4 separate regions of the Homo sapiens genome follow, and regions 2, 3 and 4 are each linked to region 1. Evidence: promoter capture Hi-C in 16 types of primary human blood cells and fetal thymus (Javierre and others, 2016). All regions are on one chromosome and are shown on one strand. Each heading gives the region's core, a stretch centred on a gene start or on the middle of the fragment in contact. The rest is flanking DNA. Distances are from core to core; before and after follow the strand shown.

What was found. Contacts are between HindIII fragments. The CHiCAGO score rates a contact against its expected background, and 5 or more counts as called.
Region 2: a contact is called between the fragment with the promoter of RBM4 here and the fragment with the promoter of ANKRD13D in region 1, in 1 of 17 cell types (total CD8 T cells). The highest score is 5.3, in total CD8 T cells.
Region 3: the fragment with the promoter of CD248 here is called in contact with the fragment with the promoter of ANKRD13D in region 1 in 4 of 17 cell types (naive CD8 T cells, fetal thymus, total CD8 T cells and 1 more); the score reaches 9.6 in naive CD8 T cells.
Region 4: the fragment with the promoter of RBM14 here is called in contact with the fragment with the promoter of ANKRD13D in region 1 in 2 of 17 cell types (non-activated CD4 T cells and M0 macrophages); the score reaches 6.9 in non-activated CD4 T cells.

The regions. Positions count from the first base shown.
Region 1 is chr11:67,287,267-67,290,608 of GRCh38, reverse strand. ANKRD13D (ankyrin repeat domain 13D) reads right to left here and starts at 1,306. Exons shown (of 15, transcript NM_207354.3): 1 at 1,059-1,306; 2 at 396-531; 3 at 163-287. The coding sequence starts at 1,148. RefSeq lists enhancers at 1-31, 32-956, 2,191-2,400, 3,151-3,342 and silencers at 951-1,720, 1,901-1,970. The HindIII fragment of the contact is 22,420 bases long and covers 1-3,342 here.
Region 2 is chr11:66,636,865-66,640,007 of GRCh38, reverse strand. It overlaps RBM4 (RNA binding motif protein 4), which reads right to left and starts at 1,305. Exons shown (of 4, transcript NM_002896.4): 1 at 1,256-1,305; 2 at 1-308. The coding sequence starts at 296. The region is part of intron 1 of RBM14-RBM4 (RBM14-RBM4 readthrough); the gene reads right to left. RefSeq lists enhancers at 429-1,140, 1,007-1,376, 1,141-1,854. The HindIII fragment of the contact is 1,556 bases long and covers 122-1,677 here.
Region 3 is chr11:66,315,453-66,318,904 of GRCh38, reverse strand. It overlaps CD248 (CD248 molecule), which reads left to right and starts at 1,861. Exons shown (of 1, transcript NM_020404.3): 1 at 1,861-3,452. The coding sequence starts at 1,878. RefSeq lists a silencer at 1,663-1,932 and an enhancer at 2,416-3,112. The HindIII fragment of the contact is 3,746 bases long and covers 1,103-3,452 here.
Region 4 is chr11:66,615,033-66,618,221 of GRCh38, reverse strand. It overlaps RBM14 (RNA binding motif protein 14), which reads right to left and starts at 1,592. Exons shown (of 3, transcript NM_006328.4): 1 at 1,165-1,592. The coding sequence starts at 1,501. It overlaps RBM14-RBM4 (RBM14-RBM4 readthrough), which reads right to left and starts at 1,592. Exons shown (of 2, transcript NM_001198846.2): 1 at 1,165-1,592. The coding sequence starts at 1,501. It also overlaps the pseudogene RNU4-39P. RefSeq lists enhancers at 1,347-1,576, 709-1,642, 2,007-2,116. The HindIII fragment of the contact is 6,097 bases long and covers 427-3,189 here.

The DNA.
Region 1 (3,342 bases), core at 57-2,556:
TCCTACGTGACCCTGGGCTGGGGTCAAGATAGACAGACCTCCTTGCTGGTGGCAGGAGGCACACTGCACAAACTGGGTGCCTTTCCAAGGCCAGGCCTGGCACAGTAACCAGGGTGGTGCCCTGCCATGGTACCCCACCTCCATAACTGTGCCCTGCTGTACCTGGCGAAGTTTGTTGAGCAGTTCCGGAATGCCCGCCAGCCTCTGCGTGGCCCTCTGGTAGTCCCGATACTGGAGCACCAGCTGCACCATCTCGGGGTCTCCAGTGCTGACTGCCTCCTGCAGGACTGCGGGCACCAGGCTGCTGAGGGGAGCCCTCCAGATGACCCCAGGCCTGGCTGCTCACTGCCCCCCGCCTGCCAGCCTCAGGGGGAGCCCCTTGTCCTCTGCAGTACCTGCCCAGCCCTGGCGGTTCTCTTTGCCCACGTTGGCATTGTGTCGAAGGAGCACTCTCACAGACTCCAGGTTTCCCAGAGACACGGCCAGCTCCAGTGGGGTCCGCCCGCGGGGGTCCTCCTGTTCAATGTCGTGCTGGGGGAGACGGGACACTCACAAAGGGCAGGAGAGAAGAGGGCAAGGCAGGGAGGCTGCCAGGGCGAGCAGGGTTGGGAATCGCTGTGGGAAATAAGGACGGCGGACTGACCAGGGAGATGGCAGAGGGTGGCCTGCGTGTCCTGGCAGGGGAGAGGAGGGGGCAGGAGGGAAGGCAGGGGCAGAGCCGGGGTCTGGCGGCGGGGCCTGGTCAGGCAGAGCTGCAGGTTGTCAGGAGTTTGGCGGAACCTGGGGACCAGGACCAGAGTTCTTGTTCTCAGCTTGGGTCAGCAAGGATGCGGAAGCGAGTTCGGGCGAGCAGGGCAAGGCCCAGCGCAGGGGAGAGGAGGCCAGAGGCTCAGGCGCGAGGGGCCGGTGACCTGGGCTTGGGATCGTGCAGGGGAGGAAGGCCCAGGATGTGGCTGCGGAGCTGAGCGGGCGGGGGGGGGGGGGGGGCTCCAGGACGGAGGCCACAGCCTTGGGTGGGGGACCCGGGGGAAGGGCCGGGTGCCCCAGCGGGGCCTCACCTGGTGGCTGTGCAGTGCGGCCTCCAGTTCGCGATGCCGGTTCGCCCAGACGAGCCGGTGCAGCGGGAAGGTGGGGCCCGGGCCGGCCATGCTGGGCCTCAGCGCCGCATCCCGGCCCCGCCTCGGCTTCGGGCCTGGCACGGCCCCCTAGCCTCCCCTCCGAGCCGCGCCCCAGCTGCGCCCCCCGCGGCCCCCGCAGCAGTAGCGGCGGCGGCGGCGGCGGCGGCAGCGCGGGCGGCAGGGAGGGCGGGGCGGGCGGCGGAGCGGGCGGGGCTGCGCCGGGCCGGGGCGGGGCTTCGCGCGCGCCCCCGTCCCCCCGCAACCATGGCAACCGCGGCCAGGCCAGCGCGCGGCAGAGCAACCGCGAGCGCCCGAGGAGATGCCCGGCCTTGGGTCTGCGCCCCGACCTCGGTCGGGCCCGGGTCCGCTGGGGCGGCCTGGAGGGCGGTGCCCGGTTACAGCTCCGCCCGCGGCCCGCAGGAGGCGCCCCGAGCCCTGCGCAGACCCCCGGAGCCGGGTCCGGAAGAGGAAGGCGGGGCCGGAGGGGGCGGGCACTGGGCCCCTCGGTAGTGCACGCGCGTGCGCGGCGGGCCGCGGTCCTGCTGCAGCCGTGATGCCTGCGTTTCCCCCGCGGATCCCCTTGCTCGCCCCGGTCTTCCTACCCCAGGTCCCGCGGTCACCGACTCTGCTGGGGTGTGCGGGTGAAGTGGGGCGCCCCGGCTCCCCTCACCCGGCCTGGAGACGAGCAACGAGCAGACGCCACTAAGTGCTTGCCGGCTGAGCGGGAAGCACCTTCCCCTGGGACCTGGCCGGTGTCTGCAGGCCCAGCGATGCGGGGAGGCGGCCCCCGGGGCCCTGAAGTCAGGGATAGGAGTTCGGGGAGAGAGGGGCGCAGGCCCAGGCAGCGGCAGAGCCGTCCCGGCGGAGGACCGCCCGCGGCGAACGGCTGCCTTCGCCCGCCGCACGAGTCCCTTTTGCAGAGGCTGCGGTTGGCTGCCAGCGTCAGGAGAGGAAGGCGAGTTTCGAAATCAGGGCCGGCCCCTCCACCCACACCGGAACTAGGGTGCAGGCCTCCGTCAGCTCAGTTCCGGCCCTTGATTACTGGAGGCCCAGCCTGGGGTCTGGGGCCCTGGTTTTGCTAGGTGGCCAAGGCTGACCCTCTATTCTCCCTTTCCCTACGTGGAACATGATTGAGGAGGGCCAGCTAGCTTGAGCATCACTTCCTGCTGTAGGGCGTCCTCAGTTCTGAGACTCTGGGCTGGAAGGCCTGATTGCCATTTTTACCCTGCCTTCTCCCTGTAGTCACATGGCGCCTGTGCCATCTGGGGTCACTTTGCCACCCCACGCTATGGTGTCAATCTGTGAGGTCCTGGGGTTGGTAGCAGCCCGAAGGCTTCTGAATGCCCAGAGCTCACCTGCTCACCACTACTGCAGCCCTCCCTGGCCACCCCTTTTCTCAGAGGCGGTCCCTTCCCTGAGCCCTCTCCAAACTCAACCCCGACAGGACTTTCTTGGTTCCAGCCTCTCCTGATTTCTGCCATCTTGAACACAGCTCCCCACTGGCACTTAATTCCATGACAGTGCCTTCTCAACCCTCTTCCACGGCCTCCTCTCTCTCCCTGACCCCCACATCCCTGGGAGAGAGACTGTCCGTTCCCATTGTCACCCTGATGCCACCCCCAGGTCCACATTTCAGCTTACTCCAGGACATCTCTGTGCCCAGGGATCCCATGCTATCCCATCAGTATGTCCGAAGCCAACCCAACCACACCTACCCTCTTCCCCAGACTCCCGCCTCACTCAGCCCCAAGTCCAGCCTGTTTCTGCTGGACCACGTTCTTCCCGTCTGGCCTCTTTTCATCTCTTCCTCTCCCACTGCGGAGGTTTGTCTCCCTGCCTCCTGTCCTTCACCTCCCTCCCCACATCCTGTACTCAGTAACCAGGCAATCACTTTAGAGCCAGCTCTCACCACTCTCAGCCCTGTTCCGCACCTTCAAGGGCTCCCTGAGCATGGCAGGTCTGGACTCCATGTCGTTTGTATCTTCATTCTGCAGGCCCTGAGCACACACCTGGCTCCGGGATAGGTTAAGCCTGGCATTCAGTGCCTCCAGGCATGGCTCCTTCCTATAGTCCTCCGGCCAGCCTGGGCCACTCATGAGTCCCTGGCTCTTCCCTGCCTCAGAAATGTCCTCCCTCCTTCCCACACCAATGCTGGAGGCCTGGCTCAAAGGCCATTGCCCCTGACTCTTGTATTCAGCCCTGAGTACCCTGCCCAGCTGCCTGC
Region 2 (3,143 bases), core at 56-2,555, 650 kb after region 1:
TCAAACTTGGCTCGAAGCTCCTTATTGGTGCAGGTGGGACTGATGTTGCCCACATGCAACTTTGTTGAGGTTTTGCTCTTATTCTTGCTGGCTTCCACGTTGATGTTCACCCCATGAAGCTTGTAATGGTGCAGGTTGCGTATGGCATCCTCAGCTGCCGTCTTGTCTTCTATGTGCACAAAGCCGTAATTCTTAATGATGTCACATTCCAGCACCTTCCCATACTGCTCGAAGAGTGAGCGAATCTCCTGCTCTGTAGCCTCCCGGGGCAGGTTTCCGATGAACAGCTTCACCATCCTGACAAGAGCCTGGGAGAGAAAAACAAGACATCTGACAAAAGACCTCAGGCCCACATCCGTTCACAAAAGACAACGACTTTCACTCTAATGTATATTTCCAGTTTTCTCTCTCACACGCCTGCACACACACCTCCACACAATAATCAAATGGAAGTGGGAGTGAACTAAGGCCTGCTATAGTAGCCGCCATGAACCTGTAAGAATAAGAAGACGTCTGCAATAGGGAGGTCCTTAGTAGACAAAGGGTTTGGTAAGAACCGATACCTTCCAACAGAAATGGGCATGAAAGACAGCATATGAAGAAATGGGGGTACTAGGCTTTTCTATCCACTAGGAGGACAACAGAAAACAAAAGTCTACTAGGCTTGCTGACTGCCTGCCTGAAATTATCAACAGGCTTTTCCTCACGTAGGAACCAAAGCAGCCATCATTTCCGGGAAAATGGGCCTTGTAATAGCTACATTTGAGTTTCCTTTGGAAGTAATGAACGCGCGACTCGGATCAGACAGCGAGGAGTGGGAGATAAAGGAAATACTGGAGTGGTGAACGCCTCTCTCGGGGCACCGTCCTAGCTCCTGCCGAACACTGAAATGCGCGGCCGCGGAAAAGAGCTTCAGATTCATTAACCAGACGATGTCTCACGGCCCGAGAAATTCCCGAAACGAGAATGTAACTGTCAGATATAAGGGAAAGGGGGTTATCCCAGTGGAAATCTCGAGGCTCCAAGAGCAGCCATGTCGGGCGCGGGACAGGGTGGGCGAAAAAAAGCAAGGTATTCTCAGGGGGCGGTGGGGGAAGGGCTGCTCCCGGCTTACCGCGCAATGCCGAGGACCGAGGTCGGCTCTCAGTGACGGGTGTGGAGACTGCGGACCTACCAGGACACCCCCGAAGCCCAAGGGAGTGAGAGAAGATTTAACACAGTACAAGAAAGGCAGTGGAAAGGCTCGGAGTCTCACCCGCACAGAAACCAGCAGGGCCTCCTCCTCGCGGCGCGGACGCTTCTGACAAAACGCTAAAATGGCGGCGGCCGCAGCAGTGCTCTGAGTAGAAGGGGGAGGTGAGCCTACAACCGGATTGGCCACTCAAGAAAGTAAAAGGCCGGCGTTCCCTCAGATCCTCTTCCTGATTGGTTACCACGGACGCCAATTACCTAAGAGGCCGGCAAGAGGTGGAAACGTCTGTAACCTCGGAGCTTTTATGCGAAAGCCAATGGGCACCAACCTCGCGAAGCCGAACTCGCTGATTGGGCAAGAGATCAGCGTGAGGGCGGACCTACAAACGTGGGCTTCGCCGGCGGGGTGCGGCCCGCCATTAGGCGGAGCGAGCTAGAGCCCCGGGGTAGCAGTCTTTAGCTTCATGGCGCCAACTTCGTTAAGCTTCCACATTTCGCCACCTCCACGTGCACAGCCAGACAGTATTCCGCGCTCCATTTTGCCGTTCACTCTAGGTGTCTCCCTCTAACCTCCCAAGCACCACCCCCCCTCGCGGCCAGGACGCTGTGGAAATAGCTTATGCAGGCACATGCCAGGGAAGAAAAACAACGAAGACCCCCCCCAACCCACCACCCACCACTTCAGGAAACCAACCTTCTCCTTGGGCCAGCAGTCCACACTGTAGCCTTGAGAGTCCCGGAGCTCCCCCAAAATCAAACCTCTCACAGGTGGTGAAAGGACCTCTGTAATGGCCTTCCAGAAGTAGGCCCGGCAGGAGGCTGCACTGTCCAGGAGACGCTGAGGACAAGTTCCCTCTGGGAACCAGCCTCCCAGGGTCCGCGATGAAGAAACCTTTCTGAGACCATGGAGATTTAAAGTATACCCCGACCCCACCCTGAGAAAAAACTGGAGCAGCAAAGGTTTTTTTGTTTTATTTTATTGGGCGCCATCAGCCAGAGCTGTTTTAATCCCCTAGAACCGACTTTAGAGGACAGAGCTTAGTCACAACCAGCTGTAAACAAAATACAAAGTAACATTCTCCAGAGGGTCCAGCTGCTGCCTCGTTTTCTCTCATCCTTAGGCTGCTTCATATTCATTAAGCAAGCAACTTTAGTCAAGACCCTTTGCGAAGCAGCTTTTGAAAAGGGTTAAAAGGTGGAGTGCAGGGACTGGATGGAAGAACTTATAACACGAACAAAACAGGCTAAAAGCAGTGCAGAGTTTATGAGGAAAGGGATCATCAGGAGTGAAGATGACACAAGTACCACACACCACCATCCAAAGCAGCTTCTTCACCACCACCCCCGCCCCAAAAAGAGAACGGTTTCATAAAGAGAAAGGTGAAGTCAGAGTTTGGGGGGGAAAAAAAAGAGTGGGTTTTAAAACCCAACACGAGGGCCAGGTGCGGTGGCCCACGCCTGTAATCCCAGCACTTTGGGAGGCCGAGGCGGGCGGATCACCTGAGGTCAGGAGTTCAAGACCAGCCTAGCCAACATGGTGAACGCCATCTCCACTAAAAATACAAAAATTAGCCCAATGTGGTGGCAGGCCCCTGTAATCCCAGCTACTCAGGAGGCTGAGGCAGGAGAATCGCTTGAACCCGGGAGGCAGAGGTTGCAGTGAGGCAAGACAAGAGTGGCCTGGACGACAAGAGTGAAACTAAAAAAAAAAAAAACCCAACATGATTCAGGAATCTGACTGCAGAAAACTGGTCAATAATTTATCCTAGGGTAGAAAAAGCTAAGGAACTAAAAAAAGAAAATATAACATTTACAGATGTGTTGGTCACTAATCTTGTCCACTTCATTGTGGATTCTGATGCACCTCTGAGCCTGTGTAAAGGCCACGGGATCAGTGATGAAGAAAATCAATTTCGTCTCAGCTGCCACGTGCCCTTCAGAGGTGGCCAGCA
Region 3 (3,452 bases), core at 612-3,111, 970 kb after region 1:
CAGGAGTGGTCAGATTCTGGATCTCTTTTGAAAGTGAAGCCAACAGGATTTGCTGAGAGACTGGATGTGGGCTGTGGGAGAAAGAGAGGAGTCAAGCATGACCTCAAGGTTTGGGGCCTGAGCCAACAGAAGGATGAACTCCTCCATCTTGACTTTTGTCTCCTGAGAAGGGGAGTCATTCTGTGTGCTTCACATGTATAGACCTTGTAAGAAGGAACTTCCAGGCATATGGCAAGAACTTCCTAAGCCCTGGTTCTCGAGGGGCTGGCTGGGTCTGCAGGGCCAGCCTAGGCACTGTAAGGTGGTTTGCAAAAACGCACCCTGGTCTCCACCCACCACATATGCTCAGAAGACAGGAACATTTGCTTCAGGCTCCACAGCTGACAAAGCACATTTGCAAACACTGAGCGCTGTGACGCAATATCTCAGCCCTGCTGAGCTAAAAATCCTGGACTCATTGCCCTCATGTTGCAACTGAGAAAAAAGGAGACCCAGAGAGGGCCAGTGACTCCCCTGCAGTCACAAAGTCGATCCATCTGTGGCAGAGGGGGAAGCTGCATCAGGGCAGTTTACTGAAGGGCGGAACCTCTCCCCCACCTCCCCACACTGTTTCTAACTTCTGCTAAGAGTGCAGCGGGTGTGCATGGGTTAATCCGCCAGCCAGCTCCCCAGAGGCCATCCTGGATGATGGGCTCAGTGCACATGCCTCCAGAGGCCTCCAGGAAGGGCGGGAAGAGGACCCTGGCCAGGCCGAAACAGCAGGCCCCGGGGGCAGGGAGGGCTCCACACACGTGATGCCTGTGTCACATATACACATATATGTCACTGTGTGCCCCATGCCCATACATGGCCTTGCATGGGTCCCCTCACAGCCTTCCACATCCTGCGTGCAGCCCAGCCCCCACCCAGCCCCCTAAACCACGCACCCTGCCTTCCTGACGCAGGAGCCCAGAGAGGCATTTCCTGTTTAGGGGCTGCCTCCTCCCCCTCTAAGCCCAGGTTCCCAGGGCCCCAGGCTGAGCTGGGGTGAGGGGAGGGCAGCCCCTGGCCCCCTCACTCCCCCAACACCCCCACACGCTGGCCCAGCTGGAACCAGAAAGCTTGAGTATAGGGGGAGAGGCTGACGCAGGGGCTCAGTAAATAAATGAGAGGCTGAGGATGCCTGTGCCTGGGTGACCAAGCTGTTTCCATTCAGGCCGAATCGGAGGTCTTCATATGTCAGGCCATGTAGAATGCCACACCATTTTTGTATGTGCACCTAGGGTCTCAGCATGTCAGAATGTGTGTACGTGTGGCAAGGGAGTCATCTGCAAGCCAGCATAGGTCCACGGTGAGGTGAAGGGACAAACAGCTTGGCAGAGAGTGCACTCTTGCATGGGGTTGGGGGTGGGGGAGGCGCATGCGCGCGTCTGTGGGGCAAGAAAGGAGTGGGCATGAGGGTGTTCCCGTGCATGGCGAGCAGCTGGGCTGAGACTGCTCCCGGGTGTGATGGGGCTGCTGTGTCCAGATTTGGGTCTCTGAGTCTCTGGGAAGCGACCTCACCCCACAGCCCCGAGCCCCAACTTGAGGGTCACAGAGCTCGGCAGGCAGGCTTTTCCCACCCCCTGACTCTCAGCCCCATGGGGCCTGGGGCAGCCGTCAACTGCGCCTTCTCCCCTCCTCCGCCCCCAACCTTAGAGCCCCCCACCCCACTGCTTCCTGCTCTAGCGGCCCCCGGGGAAGAGGGAGCAGGGAGCTGGCAGCCGCCCCAGCCCACTCCTTACAAGGCCTGAGCCCGGCCCCAGGCCCGCCCCCGGCCCGCCCGCAGGAGGCCCCAGGCCCTCCCCCTGTCAAGAGCTGCCGCCAGCCCGGGGCCGGACCAGTCCGGGGGCATCGCGATGCTGCTGCGCCTGTTGCTGGCCTGGGCGGCCGCAGGGCCCACACTGGGCCAGGACCCCTGGGCTGCTGAGCCCCGTGCCGCCTGCGGCCCCAGCAGCTGCTACGCTCTCTTCCCACGGCGCCGCACCTTCCTGGAGGCCTGGCGGGCCTGCCGCGAGCTGGGGGGCGACCTGGCCACTCCTCGGACCCCCGAGGAGGCCCAGCGTGTGGACAGCCTGGTGGGTGCGGGCCCAGCCAGCCGGCTGCTGTGGATCGGGCTGCAGCGGCAGGCCCGGCAATGCCAGCTGCAGCGCCCACTGCGCGGCTTCACGTGGACCACAGGGGACCAGGACACGGCTTTCACCAACTGGGCCCAGCCAGCCTCTGGAGGCCCCTGCCCGGCCCAGCGCTGTGTGGCCCTGGAGGCAAGTGGCGAGCACCGCTGGCTGGAGGGCTCGTGCACGCTGGCTGTCGACGGCTACCTGTGCCAGTTTGGCTTCGAGGGCGCCTGCCCGGCGCTGCAAGATGAGGCGGGCCAGGCCGGCCCAGCCGTGTATACCACGCCCTTCCACCTGGTCTCCACAGAGTTTGAGTGGCTGCCCTTCGGCTCTGTGGCCGCTGTGCAGTGCCAGGCTGGCAGGGGAGCCTCTCTGCTCTGCGTGAAGCAGCCTGAGGGAGGTGTGGGCTGGTCACGGGCTGGGCCCCTGTGCCTGGGGACTGGCTGCAGCCCTGACAACGGGGGCTGCGAACACGAATGTGTGGAGGAGGTGGATGGTCACGTGTCCTGCCGCTGCACTGAGGGCTTCCGGCTGGCAGCAGACGGGCGCAGTTGCGAGGACCCCTGTGCCCAGGCTCCGTGCGAGCAGCAGTGTGAGCCCGGTGGGCCACAAGGCTACAGCTGCCACTGTCGCCTGGGTTTCCGGCCAGCGGAGGATGATCCGCACCGCTGTGTGGACACAGATGAGTGCCAGATTGCCGGTGTGTGCCAGCAGATGTGTGTCAACTACGTTGGTGGCTTCGAGTGTTATTGTAGCGAGGGACATGAGCTGGAGGCTGATGGCATCAGCTGCAGCCCTGCAGGGGCCATGGGTGCCCAGGCTTCCCAGGACCTCGGAGATGAGTTGCTGGATGACGGGGAGGATGAGGAAGATGAAGACGAGGCCTGGAAGGCCTTCAACGGTGGCTGGACGGAGATGCCTGGGATCCTGTGGATGGAGCCTACGCAGCCGCCTGACTTTGCCCTGGCCTATAGACCGAGCTTCCCAGAGGACAGAGAGCCACAGATACCCTACCCGGAGCCCACCTGGCCACCCCCGCTCAGTGCCCCCAGGGTCCCCTACCACTCCTCAGTGCTCTCCGTCACCCGGCCTGTGGTGGTCTCTGCCACGCATCCCACACTGCCTTCTGCCCACCAGCCTCCTGTGATCCCTGCCACACACCCAGCTTTGTCCCGTGACCACCAGATCCCCGTGATCGCAGCCAACTATCCAGATCTGCCTTCTGCCTACCAACCCGGTATTCTCTCTGTCTCTCATTCAGCACAGCCTCCTGCCCACCAGCCCCCTATGATCTCAACCAAATATCCGGAGCTCTTC
Region 4 (3,189 bases), core at 343-2,842, 670 kb after region 1:
AATGACAGGGCAAAGTTAACTCTGATCTGTTCCCAAGTGGAGCAGAGACTGGCCACATACACAACGGCTGTCCCACCAAATCTTGCCAATGTAAAAGATAAAGAGCTTAAGGGATAAAAACTCAAGCTATGAAAAAGTCAACTGGGTCCCTAGTCAGGCTTAAATTATGGTGACACATTTTTCTCGAAGAAAAGGCACCGGGATCTGCCCTGAGAATCAGACTACTCAAGCAATGACTACTACTGATTCAGTAAACCGTGTTTAGCCACTGTTTAATGAAGAGCTCTCACAGACCCCTCCCCAGGACCCCCTCAGCCAGAGTATGCCCCCCTGCAAAGTCACCAAGCTTATAAAAGAATGACACTGCCCTAGGGCACTGGCTTGGCATGTAAAGACTACGCAGAAGGGGACTTCATAAAACAAGCTTTCTTGCACATGCAAAAGGCTGGGGTTTCCAGTTGACAGATGTAAAATCGAGCCCAAAGAAAAACCCCAAGTTTGAGGGAGGAGAAAAGCACAGAGCTGCCACGCCTAACCTACCTAATATTGAAAGGCCAAAGTGATTCGGAAGGGGCCCCTCTCGTACCCACGTGTAACTGTGCCCATGAGTAGACCCATGCCAGACAAGACTAAAAGACCCCAGCCCGAGAAACGTCCAAGGGCCCCGTTACCTTCCGCTTGAGCACATTCATCGGGAGGGAACAGGAGGGCGGCCTTGGGGCGTCAGCCCCCACCTTTTCCCTCTTCCCTTGCTCTGACCGACGTCTGGAGAGGAAGTGGGGAAGTGGAGAAATCTTCCCCGCTTCATGATCCGGCTTGTGCCCGTCACTTCCCAATTTCCGCTGGGTGCCAGGCCCAGGAGACCAGGAGAAGGCGCGCCCCCGGAACACTCGCAAGGCTCTCAGGCGCGTCCCCGGCCCCGTAGCTTGGCTCGCAGTGGCCGCCGCACCCACCCAGAGCCGCTTCCTCCTACTTGGTGGACGGTTCCTGGACCGCAGGGGAGGAGGGTGGCTCTACCCAACGCGCCCCCAACACCTCCGACCTGCTCCCGCGCACTTCCCCACCCCTCCCAACCGCGCAGTGACCGACCCCCGGGTAAGGGGCGTGGCTAACAGGCAGAGTGCCCCGAGCGCGCCCCCGCCCCCGAGCGCGCCTCCGCGTTACCTTTCACCACGTCACACTCGATGACGCGTCCGCGGCGCTCGAAGAGGCTGCGCAGTTCCTGGCTCGTGCATGCAGCCGACACATTGCCCACGAAAATCTTCCAAGTATTAAGAGGCCTTGGGCGCGACATCTCCACCACGAGCGCGCGCCCCGGCCGCAGCTCGTGGCCGTGCAGGGCTTCGATGGCGCGCAGCGCGCCCGCGTTCTCGCGCATGTGCACGAAGGCGAACTGTTTCATGACGGCGCAGCTCATGACCGTGCCGTAGGGCGCAAAGAGGGCTGCCAGCTCCTCCGGAGTCGTATCCGCCCCGTCGACGTTGCCCACGAATATCTTCATTTTGTCGCCGCAGCCACCTTCCTGGAGAGCCCGGACCTCTCCTCCAGCGACAGGCAAGACGTCCGAACGACCGGCAGTCCTCCTCAGGAATGGCTGGCGACCGAGAACCCCGCCGCGCAGGCGCCCTGGCCTAGCCAATGGGGACTCGCATCCCGCGCGTCCAGCGACCAATCAGAAACGCTGAGGGAAGATGTGCTCAGGCACAGCCAATCCCAGAGGGCCTAGAGCCCGCTCGTTAGCTGAGGGGGTGGGAAAGGGACGACCAACCGCCACAGCCCGTGGCGGGAGAGGGGGTTGGGAAGAAGAGGGAGGGCTGAAGAGAGGAGAACGCGCGCGAGCGGCGCCGGCGGCAGAGAGGCCTAGTCTGTAAGGCGGTCTCTGGCCCGGGTGGGGCTGGGACCGGCGGGCTCCCAGGAAAACTTTGTACAATTGGAAGTCAGGGCTCCTCCCATTCTGGAAGCCCTGTCCAAACCCGCGCCTGGGGGTTGCCGCGTGAGTGTACGGGGGAAGGCCGGGCCTGGCGGGAGAAACCAGGACAGGCGCCTTGAGTCGGCAAACGGCTCCCAGGACTGTGCTGAGCACCGCGAGGGGACCTGAGGCAGGCCCCGGAGAAGCCCTCGTGCCATTAATTGATTCTTTGGAAACATTCCCTGGGGTTGCTGAGGTCCTGGCAGCCGGTGAAAAATCAAAGGCCTCTGCCCTGATGGAATTCCCAGTCAAGAAATAATGGAATGACGTTATTGTATGTTGAAGGTTTTCATAATAAACAGTTTAATAAACGAGAAAATTAATTCTGCAGGAAGCAAAAGTTGAGCCTTAAAAAAAATTTTAGTCCGGGAGCGGTGGCTCACGCCTGTAATTCCAGCACTTTGGGAGACCAAGGCAAGCAGATCACCGGAGGTCAGGAGTTCAGGACCAGCCTGGCCAAAATGGTGAAACCCCGTCTCTACTAAAAATACAAAATTAGCCGGGTGTGGTGGTGCGCGCCTGTAATCCCAGCTACTTGGGAGGCTGAGGCAGGAGAATCACTTGAACCCGGAAGGCGGAGGTTGCAGTGAGCCAAGATCACGCCACTGCACTCCAGCATGGGCGACAGTGAGATTCCGTCTCAAAAATTTTTTTAAACAGATTTGAGTATGTAAATAAGATTGTTGCATGGCAGACAACATCAAAAACATAGACATGTGACAAACTCAGGGAAATATTTGCCTACGTGTTCAGTCAACAAATAGCACCTACCATGTGGACACCACCAAGAATATAGCAGTGAACAAAAAAAAATGACAGAAATCCCAACCTTCTTGGATCTTATGGTGGGGAGAAACAGGCAAGAAATAAGTAAAACATAAGCGTGTTAGATGGTGATGAGGACTTGGAGTAATCAAGGGAACTAAGCCATCCTCTGAGGGAAGATCATGCCGGCCAGAAAGTACAAGTCAAAGAGTGCTGGGGCAGAAGCAAATCTGGTTCAAGGAAGAGTCAAGAGCCAGTATGGGCCAGGCCCGGTGGCTCACGCCTGTAATCCCAGCACTTTGGGAGGCTGAGGCGGGCGGATCACCTGAGGTCAAGAGTTCGAGACCAGTCTGACCAACATGGTAAAACCCTGTCTCTACTAAAACTACAAAACATTAGCTTTGCGCAGTGGCAGTATCATAGCCAATGAGGTTTATCCGAGGCGCAATTATTGC